Linked DNA regions of Homo sapiens: regions 1 and 2 are each linked to region 3. The links are contacts of gene promoters, found by promoter capture Hi-C in human tissues and cell types (Jung and others, 2019). All regions are on one chromosome and are shown on one strand. Each heading gives the region's core, a stretch centred on a gene start or on the middle of the fragment in contact. The rest is flanking DNA. Distances are from core to core; before and after follow the strand shown. Region 1 overlaps RNF213 (ring finger protein 213). Region 2 overlaps SLC26A11 (solute carrier family 26 member 11). Region 3 holds the start of GAA (alpha glucosidase).

Region 1 (3,466 bases), core at 781-3,280, 240 kb after region 3:
TGCTCGGGGGTCTGGGGGCCACCACCTGCTGGATCTCAGGCTCTGGCTCTCTTGGGAGAGCCGCTGCTTTCAGTGGTGGACTCTCTGGTCCACACTGATGCACATCCTTCAGTGAGTAATTTATCTGAGGGGAATGATCTGAGTGTTTCATAGTTAATTGTGAACATGTTATTTACAGCTGAGCCTTGGTTTCTTTTTGTTTAAATGGTAATGTTGTGTGGATTGAAGGAAAGAGCATACACAGAAGTGCAGTACAGTGCCTGGGACATTGAAATTGCTCAGGAACGGCAAGATATCGTTTAGTGCTATTAACAGACAGTACAGGCTGGGCGTGGTGGCTCACACCTGTAATCTCAGCACTTTGGGAGGCCAAGTCGTGTGGATCACCTGAGGTCAGGAGTTGGAGACCAGCCTGACCAACATGGTGAAACCTGGTCTCTACTAAAAATACAAAAAATTAGCCAGGCGTGGTGGTGGGCGCCAGTAATCCCAGCTACACGGGAGGCTGAGGCAAGAGAATCACTTAAACCTGGAAGGTGGAGGTTGCAGTGAGCCGAGATCATGTCACTTCACTCCAGCTTGGGTGACAGAGTGAGACTCTGTCTCAAAAAAAAAAAAAAAAACTACAAAAGATTAGGTGTTCCGGACTCTTACTGAAAGCAGAAAGTGGACAGAACCTTAAAAATTCATGAAATATCCATTTCAGCTTCAGTAAGGATTACTGCCCAAGACCGAGTCTTGTGCTATCGTGGAATAGTCCCACGCTGAACTCCCCTCTTCTCTTCCCCAGGCATCAATGAGCTGAAGGTGTTTGTGGACCTGGCCTCCATCTCAGCGGGGGAGAATGACATTGATGTGGACCGGGTGGCCTGCTTCCATGACGCTGTGCAGGGCTACGCATCCCTGCTATTTAAGCTGGACCCCAGCGTGGACTTCAGTGCATTCATGAAGCATCTGAAAAAGCTGTGGAAGGCTCTGGATAAGGACCAGTACCTGCCCAGGAAACTGGTGAGTCTTATTCTGTCTCTAATGCAGATTTTGTTGAATAGAGCATTGCTTAGCAACGTTAGGGCAGTGACTGTGGAAATGGTGGCACACCTGTGTGGTAGGTTTGTACACAGCCGTTTTCAATGATATTTAAAAAGCTTTTCTTCATAAATGGAAATTCACCATCTTGTTACCTAGAAAGCAGGATACAAAATTACATGACACATAGTAATCTCTAAGGTGCAAAACACACGTGGAAAAAAGACAGAAGGGAAATATGCTGAAACGTTGCCAGGAGTTTTCTCTGAATGGTTGTAATTGTCATTTTATTCTGTTACTTTTTGTTATTTTCTATAATTGATAGAATTTTTTATCAGAAAAAAGTAAACATTTAAAATTAGCCAGGCATGGTGGTGTGCGCCTGTAATCCCAGCTACTCTGGAGGCTGAGACAGAATTGCTTGAACCCGGGAGGCAGAGATAGCAGTGAACTGAGATCACACCACTGTACTCCAGCCTGAGTGACAAAGTGAGACTCTGTCTCAAAAAAAAGAAAAGAAAAGAAAAAAGTAAACATTTAAGTTTAAGTAAACTACCTGTAGCAGGGTCTGAATTGACGTACGCAGCTTAACTAGATACCTGGGCCAGCCTCCGGACGGCTGCTCTGCATGTGGGTGGAGGAAGAAGTGACATATGGAAGGGCAGGTAAAGCTATCTTCATTTTTCTGCTAGAAAGTCAGCAGAGTTTCCAAACAAAACCCTCTGTTGTGATTTTTCCTAAACTTCTCTTATTGTACTTGGGGACCACAGAAGGACACTGAGGACTTGGGACTCCACAGCCATTGCTTCCAGCGTCACCCCCAGAGGGTTCTCTGCATTGGGGACCTGGCAGAATGATGGCGTCTGGTAGAGAGGCAGGCGGGCGGCTGCTCATTCCCCTCCACTCCTCCACAGATGTAAGTCAAGTGCCCCCATGTGCCAGCCGGGGCACCAGGCACTGGAGGAAACGTGGAACAGCGAGTACAAAGCAGCACTGAGTGACAGATCATGTTGTCAGGGTGGCACCTGGTCCAGCTGGGGCGCTGGGTGGGCGACTGCGTCCTGAGCCCTGGGGAAGCGTGGGGAGAAGGCTCTGCAGCGAGGCAGAGGCGGGAGGCCGACCACAGGAGGGAGAAGGGCAAGATCCTCGCTCCAACCGTGGCCCGTGTTCTCTCCTTTTGTCCCCATAGTGTGACTCCGCCAGGAACTTGGAATGGCTGAAGACTGTGAATGAGAGTCATGGGTCTGTGGAACGCTCATCCCTGACCCTGGCCACGGCCATCAACCAAAGAGGCATCTATGTGATCCAGGCGCCCAAAGGTGGCCAAAAGGTGAGCGGTCCCCAGCCCTCGGCGCAGCTGCGGCCCTTCTGCAGGCTGCTGCCAGTCCAGGTCTTCTGGCCCCAAGAAAGTGACTTCTAACCTATGCTCTTCACAGATTTCCCCAGACACGGTTCTGCACTTGATCCTTCCTGAGAGCCCTGGCAGCCACGAGGAGTCACGAGAGTACTCTTTAGAGGAGGTGAAGGAGCTTTTGAACAAGTTGATGCTGATGTCTGGCAAGAAGGATCGTAACAACACGGAAGTGGAGAGGTTTTCAGAGGTGAGGGCGCATCTTTGCAGTGGCGCTAAGCTGGTGGTGTCATCTCGTCCGTGAGGGCTGTGTACTCCCAAGAAAACGGAAAGGATTTGACTTGGGATTTGACTGATAAGAAGGGCTCTGCTCTTAGGCCCATGGAGAGTAGAGTTGGCACATTTGTAGGGTGCATGGAACTCTAGTCCGCGGCCCCAGAGAGGTCTTAAGGCAGGCAGGCCCCTGGGTTAGCAGTCCCTCCTTACGATCCGTAGGATGAACGCTGAAGCTGGCAGCCTGTCCACCGCACTGAGAAGGAGGTTGGTCACCCAGCAAATAGCCCTTAGAAAGACACTTGAATTGCCTCTCTCACTCTGTAAATCAGCAAGAATCCAAATAACTAAGATTTAGATGGACAAAACAGAAGTAATCATATTGAGAATGGTGTACCGGTCTAAGTAATAGTCTCTCAATTTTATTATAGGTTCTTTCTCTAAAGTTGATTTGTACTTTACAAATGGTATCCTTTATCTCTGCTGGGTGCAGTGGCTCACACCTGTAAAGCCAGCACTTTGGGAGCCCAAGGTGGAAGGCTCATTTTAGCCCAGGAGTTCATGACCAGCCTGGGCAACATAGCGAGACCCTGTCTCAAAAAGTATAAGGTTTTTTTTTTTCCCAATTAAAAAAAAAAGATAATTTAAAAAAATTAAAACAGTCCAGGCATCATGGTTCACACTTTGGGAGGCCGAGGCGGGCCTATCACTTGAGGTCAGGTGTTTGAGACCAGCCTGGCGATATGGTGAAACCCCATCTCTACTAAAATTACAAAAATTAGCCGGGCATGGTGGCACGTGCCTGTAATCCCAGCT
Region 2 (4,007 bases), core at 1,506-4,005, 150 kb after region 3:
TGGTCACCTTGGGCCTCTACCGAGCCCTCCCACGCCTGTATTTCCTTGCCCTAGCCCATCTCTCTCAGGGCCGTGAGCTGGGCCATGTCACCCGGGATGCCCTGATACTGAGTTGGCCCCAGGCCGAGCCGCCTTGAGAGCAGGCCCTGCACCTGTGAGACCTGAGACCCCACTGTGGGTCTTAGCGAGCAGGAGGGATTCTGGTCTTAGTGATGCCCCAGGTGAGACAGATGCTGGTGGGAGCGTGGGTCAACCTGAGCAGTGATCCCCGTTCTTGGGCCCCAGCAATGCTGTGGGCGTGGGCTTTGTCTGTTGTAGGCAGCCGGCATCACCTGGGGAGGCAGCATACTGGCCATGACCTTGGCCTCACTGTGGCTGTCATCTCGTGAGACGGAAAGGAACTGGGTGGAGAACGGTGGGCAGCCACTGACCTCCCGAGTACCTAGGGTTTGTCTTACGGGCACTTTATCTCAGCTCTCACCCCCTCCTGGGTGGTGAGATGCTCCCCTCTGTTCTGCGTGGGGAAGGCGTGTCCTGGTCACACAGGAGAGGCTGGGTGAGAAGTGTTTGAAAGCTAGGATCTTGCCAGGCATGGTGGCTCACTCCTGTGATCCCAGCACTTTGGGAGGCTGAGGCGGATGGGTCACCTGAGGTCAGGCATTTGAGACCAGCCTGGCCAGCATGGCAAAACCCTGTCTCTACTAAAAATAGAAAAATTAACTGGGTGTGGTGGCACATGCCTGTAGTCCCAGCACTTTGGGAGGTCGAAGCGGGTGGATCACTGAGGTCAGGAGTTTGAGACCAGCCTGGCCAACATGGCAAAACTCTGTCTGTACTAAAAATACAGAAATTAGCCAGGCGTGGTAGTGTGTGCCTGTAATCCCAGCTACTCAGGAGGCTGAGGCAGGAGAATCGCTTGAACTGGGAGGCGGAGGCTGCAGTGAGCTGAGATCGCGCCACTGCATTCCAGCCTGGGCAACAAAGCCAGACTCTGTCTCAAAAAAAAAAAAAAAAAAAAAAAGGCTAGGCTTTACGTCTGCAAGAATGTGGCCTGTTTTCTTCCTTCCCTGAAGGAGTGCGTAGGCCCAGGCCCCCAGGATGATTCTCCCGAGCCCTGCCTTCCTGCCTCCCTTCTGGGTTTTTGTCCCCCTCCCCATCTCCTTTCCCTCCATCCTGTGTGCCTTCCCTCCACGATCAGCCTGTCTTGCCTCCTCCCCAGGTCTCACCAACATGTTGGGCTCCCTCGTCTCCTCCTACCCGGTCACAGGCAGCTTTGGACGGTGAGTGACCTGTCCGCCTCTTCTGTTTGCCCACGTTGGACGCCCTAACGTTGTTACGCTGACAAGGAGTCTGCCTGCCCTGACCCCGGCGCCCCGTCCTCCACTGTGAACGCTCCGTGGAGAGGCAGGGCTGGGGGTCACCCACTGTCCTCCAGGGTGTTCTCTGTTTCTTTATTCTCATAGATCGTCCTGCAGTTTCATACTAGAAAGTTCCACTGGGCATTGTGGTACACCCTTGTTATCCCATTTACTCTGGAGGCGGAAGCAGGAGAATCGCTTGAGCCCAGCAGGATGAGGCTGCAGTGAGTTGTGACCGCACCGCTGCACTCCAGCCTGGGCAACAGAGCGAGACCCTGTCTCTAAAATAAATACTAGAAAGTTCCCAGCACGCCAAAGCCCTCCTAGCTCCTGGTGCCAGAGTCAATTCCTGAAAGGACGTGGAGATAGGAAGGGCCTCGGCTCTGTCCTGAAGCAGCCGGGCATGAAGCTTAGCCCAGATGCCCTACGGCCCCTCCTCAGTCAGGACAACAGGATGGAGGTGACCTGTGGCTTAAAGGAGAGAAGGAGGCGTCACCTGGCACTGCCCAGTCCCCCAGCTGGTGACCCTTGCCCTGCTGGGTATGGGGGCCCCACCTGGATGGGGGCAGGAGACAGAGTCGGCAGGAACCTGAAAGGACACGTGCTTCCTGAGCTTCTTCCTATAGTCAGGGTGGCCCAAGCGCGGCTGTCTGTGACTGCACCCTAAGTCTCTTTGCCTCGGTCCCCTTGCAGTCCCCGCCTGCTTCCCAAGCCGTGCTGGGAGCTGACGTCCCCTCGGAAGATCAGCCACAGGAGTGTGGACTGAGGTCTCCCTTTTCCCGGCCCCTGGTGACTGACGGTCTCTGTGTTGCCTTCCAGGACAGCCGTGAACGCTCAGTCGGGGGTGTGCACCCCGGCGGGGGGCCTGGTGACGGGTAAGGCCCCCCATCTTCCCCTTGTGCCCGCAGCCCTGAGAGTGGGAGAAAGGGAGGAGGGGGCCCACAGAGACGTCCCTTTGGCTCATGGGCCGTGCGCCCCGGGACTGCACAGGGACTTGGGGGGCCACACAGGAGTAGGGGGACCACAGGAGACTGAGCAGGGGCTGGGGGCCTTGGCAGTCGTCGCCCTACCCCCACCCCTGTCCCCAGTGGGCTCTGCTGAACAAGAGGCTGCTACGCTGCGTGCTGGGGGGACCCTGCACTCCCGAGGTCACCTGTGTTCCCGTGCCCCGCAGGAGTGCTGGTGCTGCTGTCTCTGGACTACCTGACCTCACTGTTCTACTACATCCCCAAGTCTGCCCTGGCTGCCGTCATCATCATGGCCGTGGCCCCGCTGTTCGACACCAAGATCTTCAGGACGCTCTGGCGTGTTAAGAGTACGTCCTTGTCCTACAGGGGAGAGCGCTGTGATGCGGTGTCTGAACGCGGAGGGTGTCATTTATGCTACCCCATTTTCCTGCAGCCCCCTCTGTGGGGCTGGGACTGGGAAGTTAGGGCAGTCCCGGAACAGAGAAGTGGATGGCCAGGAGATGGCCCCAGAGATGGTCCCGAGGCTCAGTGGGAAGAGCTGGAGCTCCTTGTCCTGACACCTGGGGTCTTGAGGCGAGCACTGACCCGGGGGAGGGTCCCCTCCTGATCCCCCTGCCCCCATCCCTACCCTCCTTGCCACCCGCCTCCAGCCACCACTCTGCCCGGCCCAGCTGGGGGAGGGACAGGAGACGTCCCTGGTGACCAGCAGGGCCAGCGGAACAGCCTTGCACCCTGGCTCAGAATGGCAGTTCCTTTTTTTTTTTTTATTATTATTTTTATTTTTTTTTATTGATCATTCTTGGGTGTTTCTTGCAGAGGGGGATTTGGCAGGGTCATAGGACAATATGGGGTTGGGGGTAAGGTCACAGATAACAGGATCCCAAGGCAGAGGAATTTTTCTTAGTGCAGAACAAAATGAAAAGTCTCCCATGTCTACTTCTTTCTACACAGACACGGCAACCATCCGATTTCTCAATCTTTTCCCCACCTTTCCCCCCTTTCTATTCCACAAAACCGCCATTGTCATCATGGCGCGTTCTCAATGAGCTGTTGGGTACACCTCCCAGACGGGGTGGTGGCCGGGCAGAGGGGCTCCTCACTTCCCAGTAGGGGCGGCCGGGCAGAGGCGCCCCTCACCTCCCGGACGGGAGCAGTTCCTTTAACTTAACACATTTTGTTTTGTTTGTGGAAGAAGCATGGAGTGGGTTCACCTAGCTTACTTGGCATTTTCTGGTTAGCCCCAGCAAGTTGCCAGGTGAAAGGATGGATAATTTTCTTGCATGCCCGTCGCATGCCAGGGCCTTTCGCGTGCCAGTGCGCTGGGGCTTTAGAACAGCCCTGAAACGTGTTCATGTGCCGGCGTGGAATGGGATGGCCGCTGCTGCTAGAAACCAAGGCTCAGCCAGGGTGGGGCAGGCCTGACCTATGCGTGCGGTGGAATCCCCCACAGGGCTAAGCCCGTGCACTTTGTCCCCAGGGCACCTTCTCCTTGGCCAGGTCTCAAGGGCTCACGTGGTCCCTGCCCCACTCCTCAGGCCAGCTCTGTGCCCTGACAAGCCCCTGCTGCTGCCCTCCCTGAGGTTGGAGGCCAGGGACCGGCCGGCAGGTCTCACCTGCGCTCAGCTCAGATGGGGAGGGCATTTCTTTCTTTCGACTTGAAGCATGGCCTGGTCAGCAGCTG
Region 3 (2,735 bases), core at 236-2,735:
ACGTGCCTCTCACAACACAACGCTGCCACAGGTCCACAAGCTGGTGGGCTGAGCAGAGGTGGGAAAGTTAAGGCAGCTCCAGCCAGCCTGGCCCGGGAGGCTGGTCCCCCCAGCACTTCCCTCTACTAGGTGCATCTGAAAACCCACAAACCACCTTCTTTACCAGTTTTCCCATCCCCACCCCTTAGAACTCTCAGGTCCCTTTTCCTGCCCCCATGTCCCCATTTGAGTTAAATTCAGATCCACAGCTTGCAGGAGAAAGTCAGTGGCCCCAGACACACGTAACAGGGTGAGCACTGAAATAAGAGCACGCTGGGGCGTCCACACCAAGGGACTACGCCCCAGTCTGCCCACCTATCTTTTCTCCATCATTAACCCAGCGCTCTTTCTCCCTGGACTTCCAAGTACCAATGACCTTGGGGCTTCTTTGCAGTTTAAAGGGAAAATGCTCTACAAAATAATTTCACTTTCAAACATTTCAGCAGAAGAATAAAATCTTTTTTCTGAATATCTAGTAAGCCTTTCTGAGTCAGCCTTACTTATTTTAAAACATTGTAGAAATACAGAAACCACAACAGAGGTGGAAGGGAGGCTTTTGTTTTTTTTTTTTTGAGACGGAGTCTCGCTCTGTCGCCCAGGCTGGAGTGCAGTGGCGCGGTCTCGGCTCGCTGCAAGCTGGAAAGGGGGCTTTTAATGCCCCTATGCCCCTACCCAGGAACAACACCTCTGTGTTTTGGTGTGGCTCCTTTTGTATTTTTCTGCACATACATTTTATTAGGCAAGTTAAGGTTATACTGTGTGTTTTTTGTATCTCACATGTAAAAATGTGCTCCTCTTAATGTAAGCATTTTCTCATTTTATGAAAAAATTCCCCCTGTGTCAGTTTAATGTTTTCTCAATTGTCAGTTTTATGGGTTATCACAATGTTTTGATTATTCCTTTCTGGAATAACTGTGAGTTATGGAGCACACTTAAGGACTTTCCAAATGTTGGCTGTTTCTAACTTGGCGCTGAGCGCCTTTGGCCGCCTTTCCGATGATGCCCTCGGGACGCGTTGGCAGGAGGAATCCCTGGGCGCAAGGCGCGGCTGGGCCAGCCCCTTACAAAGCCCTACGAGCTGCGGGGACCCAGGCCGGGGCAGCGGGGGCCACGCCCCATCTCCGACCCCACGGGGACCGGGCCGGGACTGCGCCAGCGGGGGCCTCGCCCCGTCTCTGACCCCAGAGGAACCGGCAGCGGGCAGCACGCGTGGGCCTCTCCCCGCGGGACGCCGGACGCGCAGCCAGACGCGCTCCCCAGGCCCCCTCCGAGAGCGAGGACGCGCCCAGGCCCGCTCTGCCGGAGCCGCCACTGGGGGGCGTAGCGCGGACGCGCACCCTTGCCTCGGGCGCCTGCGCGGGAGGCCGCGTCACGTGACCCACCGCGGCCCCGCCCCGCGACGAGCTCCCGCCGGTCACGTGACCCGCCTCTGCGCGCCCCCGGGCACGACCCCGGAGTCTCCGCGGGCGGCCAGGGCGCGCGTGCGCGGAGGTGAGCCGGGCCGGGGCTGCGGGGCTTCCCTGAGCGCGGGCCGGGTCGGTGGGGCGGTCGGCTGCCCGCGCGGCCTCTCAGTTGGGAAAGCTGAGGTTGTCGCCGGGGCCGCGGGTGGAGGTCGGGGATGAGGCAGCAGGTAGGACAGTGACCTCGGTGACGCGAAGGACCCCGGCCACCTCTAGGTTCTCCTCGTCCGCCCGTTGTTCAGCGAGGGAGGCTCTGCGCGTGCCGCAGCTGACGGGGAAACTGAGGCACGGAGCGGGTGAGACACCTGACGTCTGCCCCGCGCTGCCGGCGGTAACATCCCAGAAGCGGGTTTGAACGTGCCTAGCCGTGCCCCCAGCCTCTTCCCCTGAGCGGAGCTTGAGCCCCAGACCTCTAGTCCTCCCGGTCTTTATCTGAGTTCAGCTTAGAGATGAACGGGGAGCCGCCCTCCTGTGCTGGGCTTGGGGCTGGAGGCTGCATCTTCCCGTTTCTAGGGTTTCCTTTCCCCTTTTGATCGACGCAGTGCTCAGTCCTGGCCGGGACCCGAGCCACCTCTCCTGCTCCTGCAGGACGCACATGGCTGGGTCTGAATCCCTGGGGTGAGGAGCACCGTGGCCTGAGAGGGGGCCCCTGGGCCAGCTCTGAAATCTGAATGTCTCAATCACAAAGACCCCCTTAGGCCAGGCCAGGGGTGACTGTCTCTGGTCTTTGTCCCTGGTTGCTGGCACATAGCACCCGAAACCCTTGGAAACCGAGTGATGAGAGAGCCTTTTGCTCATGAGGTGACTGATGACCGGGGACACCAGGTGGCTTCAGGATGGAAGCAGATGGCCAGAAAGACCAAGGCCTGATGACGGGTTGGGATGGAAAAGGGGTGAGGGGCTGGAGATTGAGTGAATCACCAGTGGCTTAGTCAACCATGCCTGCACAATGGAACCCCGTAAGAAACCACAGGGATCAGAGGGCTTCCCGCCGGGTTGTGGAACACACCAAGGCACTGGAGGGTGGTGCGAGCAGAGAGCACAGCATCACTGCCCCCACCTCACACCAGGCCCTACGCATCTCTTCCATACGGCTGTCTGAGTTTTATCCTTTGTAATAAACCAGCAACTGTAAGAAACGCACTTTCCTGAGTTCTGTGACCCTGAAGAGGGAGTCCTGGGAACCTCTGAATTTATAACTAGTTGATCGAAAGTACAAGTGACAACCTGGGATTT

The links. Contacts are between HindIII fragments. The study calls those that stand out against the background at their distance.
Region 1: a fragment that was not itself captured here is called in contact with the fragment with the promoter of GAA in region 3 in 2 of the 25 tissues and cell types used here (IMR-90 fibroblasts and lymphoblastoid cells).
Region 2: a fragment that was not itself captured here is called in contact with the fragment with the promoter of GAA in region 3 in 1 of the 25 tissues and cell types used here (spleen).

The regions. Positions count from the first base shown.
Region 1 is chr17:80,335,371-80,338,836 of GRCh38, forward strand. It overlaps RNF213 (ring finger protein 213), which reads left to right. Exons shown (of 68, transcript NM_001256071.3): 23 at 791-1,008; 24 at 2,216-2,356; 25 at 2,463-2,627. Among named protein-coding and RNA genes, the nearest start is that of RNF213, 76 kb to the left of the region's middle. The HindIII fragment of the contact is 5,157 bases long and covers 1-3,466 here.
Region 2 is chr17:80,243,977-80,247,983 of GRCh38, forward strand. SLC26A11 (solute carrier family 26 member 11) reads left to right here. Exons shown (of 18, transcript NM_001166347.2): 11 at 1,220-1,280; 12 at 2,178-2,233; 13 at 2,533-2,673. Among named protein-coding and RNA genes, the nearest start is that of RNF213, 15 kb to the right of the region's middle. The HindIII fragment of the contact is 7,646 bases long and covers 1-4,007 here.
Region 3 is chr17:80,100,096-80,102,830 of GRCh38, forward strand. It overlaps GAA (alpha glucosidase), which reads left to right and starts at 1,486. Exons shown (of 20, transcript NM_000152.5): 1 at 1,486-1,795. It overlaps CCDC40 (coiled-coil domain 40 molecular ruler complex subunit), which reads left to right. Exons shown (of 20, transcript NM_017950.4): 20 at 1-518. RefSeq lists a silencer at 1,033-1,652 and an enhancer at 1,983-2,092. The HindIII fragment of the contact is 18,678 bases long and covers 1-2,735 here.